Regions from separate parts of the Homo sapiens genome. Here region 2 is linked to region 1. The links are contacts of gene promoters, found by promoter capture Hi-C in blood cells and fetal thymus (Javierre and others, 2016). All regions are on one chromosome and are shown on one strand. The core of a region is centred on a gene start or on the middle of the fragment in contact, and the rest is flanking DNA. Distances in the headings are between cores, read along the strand shown. Region 1 holds the start of H2BC17 (H2B clustered histone 17). Region 2 holds the start of TRQ-CTG1-2 (tRNA-Gln (anticodon CTG) 1-2).

What was found. The method cuts DNA at HindIII sites, captures the fragments that hold promoters and counts their contacts. A CHiCAGO score of 5 or more calls a contact.
Region 2: a fragment that was not itself captured here is called in contact with the fragment with the promoter of H2BC17 in region 1 in 3 of 17 cell types (naive B cells, total CD8 T cells and activated CD4 T cells); the score reaches 6.5 in naive B cells.

What each region holds. Positions count from the first base shown.
Region 1 is chr6:27,890,508-27,896,690 of GRCh38, forward strand. H2BC17 (H2B clustered histone 17) reads left to right here and starts at 2,918. Exons shown (of 1, transcript NM_003527.4): 1 at 2,918-3,384. The coding sequence starts at 2,956. The coding sequence ends at 3,336. It overlaps H2AC17 (H2A clustered histone 17), which reads right to left and starts at 2,678. Exons shown (of 1, transcript NM_003514.2): 1 at 2,192-2,678. The coding sequence starts at 2,642. The coding sequence ends at 2,250. H3C12 (H3 clustered histone 12) reads right to left here and starts at 319. Exons shown (of 1, transcript NM_003535.3): 1 at 1-319. The coding sequence starts at 285. RefSeq lists enhancers at 1,804-2,347, 1,952-2,001, 2,348-2,891, 2,912-3,151, 3,542-3,681 and 3 more and a cis regulatory region at 5,017-5,301. The HindIII fragment of the contact is 3,889 bases long and covers 2,750-6,183 here.
Region 2 is chr6:27,519,514-27,525,455 of GRCh38, forward strand. It overlaps TRQ-CTG1-2 (tRNA-Gln (anticodon CTG) 1-2), which reads left to right and starts at 16; the gene lies at 16-87. It also overlaps the pseudogene HNRNPA1P1. RefSeq lists a silencer at 49-98. The HindIII fragment of the contact is 2,165 bases long and covers 1,438-3,602 here.

The DNA.
Region 1 (6,183 bases), core at 1,668-4,167:
CTCTTGCAGCGCCATCACCGCCGAGCTCTGGAAACGAAGGTCGGTTTTGAAATCCTGCGCGATTTCTCGCACCAGGCGCTGAAATGGCAGTTTGCGGATGAGCAGCTCAGTCGACTTCTGATAACGGCGGATCTCACGCAAGGCCACGGTGCCTGGCCTGTAGCGGTGGGGCTTCTTCACACCGCCAGTCGCTGGAGCGCTTTTGCGCGCTGCCTTGGTGGCCAGCTGCTTCCGCGGTGCCTTGCCGCCGGTAGACTTGCGAGCTGTCTGCTTCGTCCGGGCCATAGTTGAGAAAGCTATGCTCTGAAAGCAAGCAGCTGAATGAGCAGTGGCTTCTACCAGAATTTATAACGATGATCTGATCCTGATTGGTCAGAACTGTTGTAGGAAAAACCTGGTTGGTTGTTAATACTATCTTCATTTGGTTCCTGCCACTTTTTTTTTTTTTTTTTTTTTTTTACCTGACGGCTTCTAATTCTGTCGCCTAGGCTGGAGTGTGGTGGCGCGATCTCAGCTCACTGCAACCTCCGCCTCCCGGGTTCAAGCGATTCTGCCTCAGCCTCCGGAGTAGCTGGGACTACAGGCACTTGCCACGACGCCCGGCTAATTTTTTTTTAGCAGAGAAGGGGTTTCACCATGTTGGCCAGGCTGGTCTCAAACTCCTGATCTCAAGTTATCCGCCTGCCTCGGACTTCCAAAGTGCTTAGATTACAGGCGTGAGCCACTGCGCTCGTCCTCCGCGCCACTTTTATTTATTGTTTTCAACCAATCATGTTAAGATTCCCCCAATGAAAAGATAATCTGACCTAGAATTTGTGTAGGTCAGTCGTAGTCTTAAACTCATTTCCAATGGGTCATTTTTCCTATTTCGGATCGTGTAAAAATACATACAGTAGAACAACGTATTTGCTAGTATTTCCAAAAAGTAGTTCCGTTTTGTAACTGCTTAATTAAATCTTTTAATGACTGTACCAAGACCCAGAACAAAAACAATTTAAACTTAGGCTGGCACATTCTCTAAAACACCAAAACTTTAGTTTTGTCCAGTGTGGTGTGGGGAAGGAGTTTGATAGGTGCTTGACTAAATGATACCAATAAATGGTATCTGACCTCTTCATTAACTGAGTTTAATGCAATCCAATGGCTGATTGGATTAATTATGTAAATTATTGCTTAATTTCATTAGCATGCGCGGAATTACAGGTTTGGGTCAGTGATTAGATTTTTGCCAGTGAATCTGGGTAGTTCTGACAACAGCATTTTATTAGGATGGAGATTTTAGTTGATCAAAGAACTACCAGGTTCTGGTATTGATAAAGACCCATAAAGACAACAAAAAGGTTAGTTTAACATTTATTATATTCACAGGAGCAAATGATCACCAGAAATACTTTTGTTTGGGTTTTGTTTTTCTTTTTTTGAGACGGGGTCTCGCTTTGTCACCCAGGCTGGAGTGCAGTGGCGAGGTCATGGCTCACTGAAATCTCAAATTCCTGGGACTCAAGTGTTCCTTCTGCTGTCAGTCCGCCAAATACAGGCGAGGGCCTCGCGCCTGGTATTTTTTTTCTTTCTTTTTTTTAGATGGAGTCTCGCTCTGTCGCCCAGGCTGGAGTGCAGTGGCGTGATCTCGGCTCACTGCAACCTCTGCCTCCTGGGTTCAAGCGATTCTCCTGCCTGTCTCCTTAGTAGCGCTCGCCACCACGCCCGGCTAATTTTTGTGTTTTTAGTAGGGACAGGGTTTCACCATGTTTGCCTGGGTGGTCTCGATCTCTTGACCTTGTGATACACCCTCCTCGGCCTCCCAAAGTGCTGGGATTACAGGCGTGAGCCACCGCGCCCAGTCATTTTTTTTTTAAGAGGCAGGGGTCTCGTTATCAGGGTGGTCTCGAACTCCAGGTCCCTAGAGATTTCTCCCCTCCCCACCCACCTGCCTCAGTTTCCCAAAATGCTAAGGACGCATAAACCACCGCGCCCGGCCCCAAGTTTTTTAAAGACCCAGGACAGTTTGTGGGGAGGGGACAATTAAGGAGGTTCCTTCATGTTATAAGGTAGCAGTTGGATAGTATTTACTAGGCCTGATTCAATACTTTTATTTTACCCAATAGGAAAGTAATGGCCTCAGTGCTTGAACTCGGCCACAAATTTCTGATAGGTTTGGAGAACAGAGTGCTCAGTTCTTCCGTAGAAATGGTGGGTGGCTCTGAAAAGAGCCTTTTGTCTTGTAAGTTTACATTTTTAAAGTTCAGCCCTTACTTGCCCTTAGCTTTGTGGTGGCTCTCAGTCTTCTTGGGGAGCAGTACGGCCTGGATGTTAGGCAGAACACCGCCCTGAGCGATGGTAACTTTACCAAGCAGCTTGTTGAGCTCCTCGTCGTTGCGGATGGCCAGCTGCAAGTGGCGCGGGATGATGCGGGTCTTTTTGTTGTCGCGGGCTGCGTTGCCCGCCAGCTCCAGGATCTCGGCAGTTAGGTACTCCAGCACCGCCGCCAGGTAAACCGGCGCGCCGGCCCCGACCCGCTCAGCGTAGTTGCCCTTGCGGAGCAGGCGGTGCACTCGTCCTACAGGAAATTGGAGCCCAGCTCTAGAGGAGCGGGTTTTGGCCTTGGCGCGAGCCTTGCCGCCCTGCTTGCCACGTCCAGACATGGTAAAACGACCTGTGGCCTAAGTCAGAAAGTGAGTGAAAGGAACCTACAGGGACGCGCATTTTATAGCAGCTGCTGGGCGCGAAAAAGAAGCTGGGCCATTGGCTAAGCTTGCAGCTTCCTCTTAATGCAAATGAGCTTTCTGAATATACGTGTTTTGATTGGACTATATTGATATTAACGTCATCTGAGTAACTTCCAATCAGACAGAAGAATTTCTCAATCTCATCTGCATATAGACTTGTAAATAAATAGGGCATAACCCAGCTTGTCCTCATTCTTGTTATTTGAGTGCTCTTTCACTCTCCTCCGCCATGCCCGACCCGGCTAAATCTGCTCCTGCCCCCAAAAAGGGCTCCAAGAAAGCCGTAACCAAGGCCCAGAAAAAGGACGGCAAGAAGCGCAAGCGCAGCCGCAAAGAGAGTTACTCTATCTACGTGTACAAGGTGCTGAAGCAAGTCCACCCCGACACCGGCATCTCATCGAAGGCCATGGGCATCATGAACTCCTTCGTCAATGACATCTTTGAGCGCATCGCTGGCGAGGCTTCCCGCCTGGCGCATTACAACAAGCGCTCGACCATCACCTCCAGGGAGATCCAGACGGCCGTGCGCCTGCTGCTGCCCGGGGAGCTGGCCAAGCACGCCGTGTCCGAGGGCACAAAGGCCGTCACCAAGTACACCAGCTCCAAGTGAGCTCTCGCAGCTGCCAGCAATCCAAAGGCTCTTTTCAGAGCCACTCACGCTTCCAGAGAAAGAGCCTGTGCATTTTGCTTGTAGTCTTTTGGGTGGACTCCGGCCGGCCTCCATTAGGAGGGAAGACGGCGGGAAAAGGTAAGCTAAGCTCCCTAGGCTTTTTGCGTGTGAGTATAGACGCTCCATCAGACAAATTTAGCTTGGGTTCTTAGATACCCTTGGGGAAAAAGGCTTGCAGTTGTGCTTTAAGCTATAATTACAAGTTTGCTTTCGGTTTTCGGTTACTCTTTCCTTTTGTGTTGTTTTTTTTTTTTTTTTTTAAATGGAGTCTTGGCTCTGTCGCCCAGGATAGAGTGCAGTGCCGCGATCTCGGCTCACTGTAAGCTCCGTCTCCCGGGTTCAACCAATTCTGCTTCGGCCTCCTAAGTAGCTGGGATTACAGGCGCCCGCCACCGTGCCCGACTAATTATTGCATTTTTAGTAGAGACGGAGTTTTACCGTCTTGACCAGGCTAGTCTCGAACTCCTGACTTCGTGATCCACCCATCTCGGCCTCCCAAAATGTTGGGATATCAGGCGTGAGCCATCGCGCGCGGCCGGGTTATTCTTTCAGTGCCTGTAACGTCCCCCTTCTTTGATTGGTCAACGCTCTATTTGAAAAGCCCGCCAAGGGCTGCAATTTGCCAGATAGTCTCATCCGGGTTGTTTTTCGAAGAGGTTCTCCCGGAATGGAAATGACCGTTATCTGCAGGAGTGCATCGGACTCTGGCGCCAAGAGCTGGAAGCTGTGAATTAACCGTCCCTCTTACTGCAGTTGTACGGATCCTGGGTGACATTGACTTACCGGTGTCCATTTTCCATACACTTTAGAGAATAGGCATCTCGTCTGGCATCGCTGCAGATATGTTAGGGTGGGTTGAAATTATTGGTGTCAAAGCGGGACGGGAAACATTAAAGGCTAAGGAAGCTCCTTTAGGATAAAATGTTGAACAAAGAACCTGGCAACTTGGGAAAGCCGCTTTTTTGCAATGTTAATCAGTTGGCCTTGGGGAGGGAGGTGTGCCAGGATTAGCTGGGGCGGGGGCAGCGTTCAGGCTGGGATTTTAAAGTCCATGATTAGGAATCCTGAGATAGAAGTTGGAGAACCCCGCGTTTAAAGAGAAGCGGACCCCAGAAGAGATCACAGAAATAGGAGGTAAACCAAGAGCGTGCGAGTACAAGGGAGTGGAGACTTTTCAAGGCATGATCCCCTCTTCTCAACAGTGCCTGAATTCTCATAGCATTGCATCCTCTGCCACTGCGTTATCCCCTCTTCAATAAATTACTTCTATTGTAAATCTTTAGCAGCAAAATAGCAAGCCCCTCCACAATTCCACTCCAGGCTTTAAAATCACCCCTTAACTTTTCCTTTATTTTCCTGACGTCACTTCCTTTGCAGCTATGGGTGGAAGGCTATCTCGGACGAATAGTCTCGTCTCTGTCACAGGTGACAAACAGCCCCGAATTATGCCAATTGGTTAGTGGGTCGTTCAAAATACATTGTAGGATTTGCCGTTCACTTCCCTAAAATGTTCTCTTCCCCAGTCCCCGTACCTTGTCATTAAAGTTTGGTGCCTCGGGCTTGGCGACAGAGCTTATCGACAAGCTAAGTTACTTGGAGAGCAGTCCCCTGATTTCATCATGTTCTTTAACTTGGCATCACATTTGCCCCCTCCTTTCATTCCTCTTCGCTCTCTTTTTCGAGATTCGTTTCTCCCTGCCCATCCCGCGTCCTTGAGAGAACATCTGAGGGGTGATTATCCTCCGAGTGGGTGAGAGAGTACGTGTGGCCTTCTCCTGCCATCTTGTGGCAAAAAAGCAAAAGCACAAGTTCAAGGCGTTGTGTTTTCCAGCCCCAGTTAAAATGCTTTCTTCTTAACTTTCTACTGAGTCAGTGGGCTAGGGCAGGGTTTCCATTTTTCACTCCTTTTAATTGCAGGATTCAAGTTTCTTCAAGAGTTGTTAGTGCGGAGGTTAAAAGGGAGCGGGAGGGGGGCGGGGGAGTTAATAGGAAGAGCGAGGAGTGGGTAAAGGAGAAAGTCCTGTTGAGCTTTGTGATCTGGTCAGAGCTGTCCAAAAGAAATAAACAAATAAAAAAAGCCAAAATGCTTTATACCCTAAAATAAATAATAATACGATCGTGCTTTCTAGTTCTATTAGATTAAGTCCCCACACTTACAACTCAATTTAACCTTAATTATCTGTTTAAAGGCCCTGTCTTCAAATACCAACCACACTGAGGGCTGGGACTTCGACATGAAGTTGTTTTCTTTTGTTTTGTTTTTTGAGACAGAGTCTCACTCTGTCGCCCAGGCTGGAGTGCAGTGGCGCAATCTCGGCTCACTGCAACTTCCACCTCCTGGGTTCAAGTGATTCTTCTTCCTCAACCTCCTGAGTAGCTGAACTACAGACAGGCACCTGCCACAGCGCCCAGCTAATTTTTGTGTTTTTAGTACAGACAGGGTTTCACCATGTTGTCCAGGCTGGTCTTGGACTCCCAAAGTTCTGGGATTACAGGCGCGAGCCACTGCACCTGGTCTGTTTTGGGGGAACACAATGAAGTCCATAACAGCACTTAAGACCATTTTCCATGCTTTCATCCCGACTTTCTATTCCAAGTTCTCCTTTATAAAATATCTACATTTAGCTTAATTTGCAGATAAGGTGACAGTTATGATATTCCTTAAACCAGAAGTTAAAAGTCAGTTGCTAACAAAGGCCCAGCACATTAGAGCAAAAACAGCTGGATATTAAAAAGCACGCCTTATCTCTATAAAGAGAGGTGCTATTTGCTATTTTTCTTGAAACA
Region 2 (5,942 bases), core at 1,270-3,769, 370 kb before region 1:
CACGAGCTATTGCGAGGTTCCATGGTGTAATGGTTAGCACTCTGGACTCTGAATCCAGCGATCCGAGTTCAAATCTCGGTGGAACCTGTCGTTTCTTCTTGCTTCCTCACTATTTTTTTCTTTCTAAAATAAATTTCCCTCTTAGATATGATTGGCAGGAATCTCCAGTTCATGTGAACCCAAAGTATGACGCGGACTCTGTACGGGGCCCACTGACTCTCTGCTCTATGTTCAGAGCAGGAGACCCTCATACCTCCTTCATTTTACTACCCTCCTCACCACCACCTAACAGATATTCTAATACCCAAAATAATTCGAGTTGAGTTAAACTTTTTACTTGATTTATTGCTTTATGAAATGCAGTTAATTCACTTCAGAGGACAAAAAGGACTCAACAGATTTGAGGGAAAAGAAATATTCTTGTATGTATCTTTTTCCCAAGAGAATGAGGCTTTATAATGCCTTTTAGGTGCAATCACTAGAATTTATAGGTGTTTCATTTGCCACTGAGAAACAAGGATTAGTGAAAATAAATCTGTACTTTAAATAAAAATTGCTTAAACTCTCTTAGGTATTTGAACACTATTGGATCCTCACATGGTAACTTCAATCACTGTCAACACGGTAAGTAAATATCCAGATACACCTTCTAAGTGCTCTGTTGGTCATTTCTGTGACATTAACCCGCCACACAGAATTGCTGTCAATGCTGAATACGTCCCATAGAATGATAGAGCTTTAAAATTGTATCCTAGGATGCCTCTGTGATTATTTTGTCTTCATAAAACTAAATGTCTCTTGTTGCAAGTTAGTTTATTTTCTGGTAAATGTTTGGATTTGTCACAACTTAAGGAAAGACAAAGAAGTTACTGGGTCTCTGAAGAATTAAGGCCAAAGTGCTTTCCTTAGTTTGATTTTATCTATTAGTATTTATAAAATTGTGTCTTTTAATTGTGGATACAGGGTATCAGGCTATATGTTATAATCTTTTTTCATTTAATCTTATATTGCTAAAATTAATCATCTCTTTTGTTGTATGTAGCTACCATTCATTCATTGATTTCATGTTAGCTGCTGTGTAATATGAACATGCCACAGCTCATTCATTCATCTTTCCATTAATGGGAAACCAAGAGATGTTTATAATATAAATTTGATTTTGAATTATGGCAATTCTTGGGTCACAAAAATTAAAAATTATTTTACTGCAGAGGAAATTCCTGATTCTGCAACCATACATTTAATGGAGAATTTATAACTTTGAATTGTCATTTTCATTTTCCAAATGCTTCCACACATAATGATTATTTGCCCTTTTATATTGTACTACCCATTCCTTCTGATTCCTCATGCATTTTCTAGTGTTAACTGCTAGCAGCATTATGTTCCCCAGCATGGAATGCCTTTGCTAGGCCTTATGCCACCACTGCCTCTAAAAGCTTAAATATCTACCTGCATTTAGCAGATATCTATTCATTACCCTTACCAAGGCAAATGTTGCAAGAAAATAGATGCTTACCTTTAATTTAGATGGACCTAATTTGCTTCTAAACATTTCTTCATAGACTTTATTATACTTGCATAAAGATGCATCATGATAAAATACATAATTTTGGAGTTTTTCTCCCTTGTTTATATACATGTTTCTTCTGAAAGAAGAAATACATCTGATTGGAAAACTTAGGGCACATGCGTGCCATCCTAGCTACATAGAAGCCTAAGAAATTGTTTTAGACAGTTTGGACTACTATAACTATATAATGTTTGTTGACTTAAACAACAAACATTTATTTCTCACAATTCTGAAGGCTGGGAAACCCAAAATCAAGGTTCCAGCTGATTCAATGTCTGGTGAGCCCTCCCTTCTTGATTTGCAGCCTACTGTCCTCTTGCTCTATCCTCACATACTGGGGGGACAGAGAGAGAGAGAGAGAAACAGAGAGAGAGAGGCTTCCACATATGCATTTGAGTCCATTCAGTCCATAGCAGGAATTTAGTTATCACAGAACCATTGAGGATGCACAGTTCATTGGTAGAGAATTCTCCCTAGTCATATGAAGTCTTAGGCATATTAGACCACTATGTTCATCAATATGATTATCTATAATTTCTTTTCTTCCTAAACTTTTCTTTTTCCATCAATTTTCTCTTTCATTATGATTCAGCCACAGAATCTGTTAAAATAGGCCGGGCACAGTGGTTCATGCCTGTAGTTTCCACAGTTTCAGAGGGTGAGGTGGGTGGATCACTTAAGGCCAGGAGTTGGTGACCAGCCTGAGCAAGATGGTGAGTCCCTGTCTCTACAAAACTAATATTTGTTAAATAATCTGTTAAAATATTAGTTAATAATTACTAAATTTTGAGATGTAGAAACAAAATGGAACTAAAATGATGAATAACAATAATACACAAAATGGGATGTTGTAATAAGGATCAAATTATACTGGAGTCATTTATCATAATAAAAGATAATTTTTAGAACTGTTTACTGAAGTTATAATTCATGCAAATGCTGAACGAATGACTATGAAATTAGTACTTGTCTGAGGGCATGGCCAAAGCTACGCAGTAGTGCCTCTTTGCTGTGAATAAAATGCCAGGATGTAAAAATTTAAGAATTTTATTGAAAAACTAATTATTATTAGCATTATATTTAATGTATTATATTTTATATTAATATATTACTATAAGAACTGTATTATAATCAAAACTTTACTAGTCAAAATTTCAAAGGTTGATATTATTGTGTATTGATATCATTTACTAGATTTTTCTTCAGTCACCCTACAGCACAGCTGGGCCAAAAAATAGATGCCCACTTTTAACTTAGATGGACTTCATTGCTTCTAAACATCTCCTCTTTTCTTCAAAGACTTTGTTATACTTGCATAAACAAAGATTTGTCATGATATAATACAAAATTTTGGAACGTTTCCCCCTTGTGAAAGTTTAATGTGACAAAATAGACATTTTGCTTTTAAGTTATTTTGACAAAATGAAAAAAATTGTCAAATAGAACTTTTGTTTAAAGACTCAAGGCTAATATAGAAAATAGTTTTTGAAGGTATTTTTAAATATTCTAGAAATGAAGAATTAAGATATAATTACAACTTTATTATTCTTCATTTTATTCTAATGTAAATATTTATAATATTTGTTGAGAATAAAAGTATGTGATGTTCTTCCTATACAGCAATCTAAAGAACTCTTATATTTATATTAACTTCCTTATATTAATTTCAATTTTATTAATTCTTAATATTACATAAAATATAAAGTTTTTCACAAATTATTAATTATTGAAGCATTTTATCCCTAAAATAGTAAAAATCCATTCATATTTCAATGATTGACAGTATCTTAACAAAGCTCACAAGATTTTCACTCTATGCTTAATAGCTAAAATTCTTATTCTTGTACTAAACAATAACAGTACTAAAAAATAAATAAATAAAATAAGACAACTATACTATTCAGATACTAAAAGTAAACCTGGCCTTTTCCGCCTGTGGACACTGCTGAGGAAGCACTGTTAAACGCCCTTCTTCCCACTGCCATCATATCTAAGTCAGCGTCTCCTAAAGAGCCCGAACAGCTGCTGAAGCTTTTCATTGTCATTGGAGGGTTGAATTTTGTTTTTTTCGGTTTTGTTTTTGTTTTTTTTGAGACGAGTCTCTTTCTGTCGCCAAGCTGGAGGAGTGCAGTGGCGCAATCTGGGATCGCTGCAACCTCCGCCTCCTGAGTTCAAGTGATTCTCCTGCCTCAGCCTCCCAAGTAGCTGGGACTACAGGCGGGCACCACCACGCCTGGCTAAGTGTGTGTGTGTGTGTGTGTGTGTCTGTGTGTGTGTAGTACAGACGTGGTTTCACTATGTTGTCCAGGTTGGCCTCCCAGAGTGCTAGGATTACAGGCATGAGCCACTGCACCTGGCCAGGAGGGTTGAGCTTTGAAACAACTGATGAGAGCCTGAGGAGCCATTTTGAGCAATAGGGAACGCTCACGGACTGTGTAGTAAAGAAAGATCCAAACACCAAGCACTCCAGGGGCTTTGGGTTTGTCACATATGCCGGTATGGAAAAGGTGGATACAGCCATGAATGCAAGGCCGCACAAGGTGGATGGAAGATTTGTGGAACCAAAGACAGCTGTTTCAAGAGAAGATTCTCAAAGACCAGGTGCCCACTTAACTGTGATAAAGATGTTAAAGAAGAACTGAAGAACATAAACTAAGAGATTATATTGAACAGTATGGAAAAATTGAAGTGATTGAGATCATGACTGACCGAGGCAGTGGCAAGAACAGGGGCTTTGCCTTGTAACTTTTGATGACCATGACTCCATGGAAAGGATTGTCATTCAGAAATACCACACTGTGAATGGCCACAACTGTGACTTTAGGAGTGCTCTGTCAAAGCAAAAGATGTTTAGTGCTTCATCCAGCCAAAGAGATCGAAGTGGTTCTGGAAACTTTGGTGGTGGCGTTGGAGGTGGTTTTGGTGAGAATGACAACTTCGGTCGTGGAGGAAACTTCAGTGGTTGTGCTGGCTTTGGTGGCAGAAGTGGTGGTGGTAGATAGGGTGGCAGTGGGAATGGCTATAACAGATTTGATAATGATGGAAGCAATTTTGGAGGTGGTGGAAGCTACAATGATTTTGGCAATTACAACGATCGGTCTTCAAATTTTGGACCCATAAAGGGAGGAAACTTTGGAGGCAGAAGCTCTGGTCCCTATGGTGGTGGAAGCCAATACTTTGCCAAACCATGAAACCAAGGTGGCTATGGCAGTTCCGTAGCAGCAGTAGTTACGGCAGTGGTAGAAGATTTTAATTACTGCCAGGAAACAAAGCTTACCAGGAAAGGAGAGTCAAAGAAGTGACAGGGAAGCTGCAGATTACAACCGATTTGTGAACTCAGCCAAGCCCAGTGGTGGAAGGGCCTAACTGCTACAAAGAAGACATGTATTAGACAAATACTCATGTATATGGGCAAAAAACTTGAGGACTGTATTTATGACTAATTGTATAATAGGTTATTTTAGTTTCTGTTCTGAGGAAAGTATAAATCATTTCAACAAAGGGTTTTAATATAGTGTGTTTTTTTTTTTTTGCACCTAGGCTGTTGGATGCCAAATGTAATAGTCTAATCATGACTCTGAATAAATGTGTCTCTTTGAAAAATGTGCTATGTAAAGTTAGTCTACTCTGAAGCCATCTTGGTAAATTTCCCCAACATTGTGAAGGGAATTCCTTCAGGGTGATGCCACATTCTATTTGGAATTTGTATATGACCTGCTTGGGTGGAGAAGCCATTATCTTCAGTAACCTTGGTGTAGTTGAACTGATAGTTACTGTTGTGACTTGAAGTTCACCATTAAAAGAGTTCACCGGGCCAGGCGCGGCGGCTCACATTTGTAATTCCAGCACTTTAGAAGGCTGAGGCAGGAGAATTGCTTGAACCCAGAAGGCAGAGGTTACAGTGAGGAGAGATCTTGTCATTGCGCTCCAGCCTGGGCGACAGAGTGAGACTCCAACTCAAAAAAAAAAAAAAAATTAGGCTCAAGGATTCCAGAAATAACATGGAAGTAGATATCTGGCTATTTGACTTTCATTCTGGGATGGGGGTAGGGGGTTCTTTACAGCCTGGGGCAATGAAAGTCTCAGCTCCCTGTTCTGCTTTCTTCGAGAAGTGTGTGTGTGTGTGTGTGTGTGTGTGTGTGTGTGTGTGTGTGTGTGTGTTGGAGGTAGAGGGAATGCACCTTGTTACAGCTTGATGGAAGTCTAGATTCCCCACTTTGCCTTTGCTGTTGTGTGTGAAGGTTTGGACGACAGTTGTTTTTTTTTTTTTTTTCCTCTTCCAGCTTCCCAAGAGCAGAAGTCCGTAGAAATGGAGTTTGTAACTCCACTGAACACACAAAATTAGCTAAAAAAAAATAACAAGTCACAA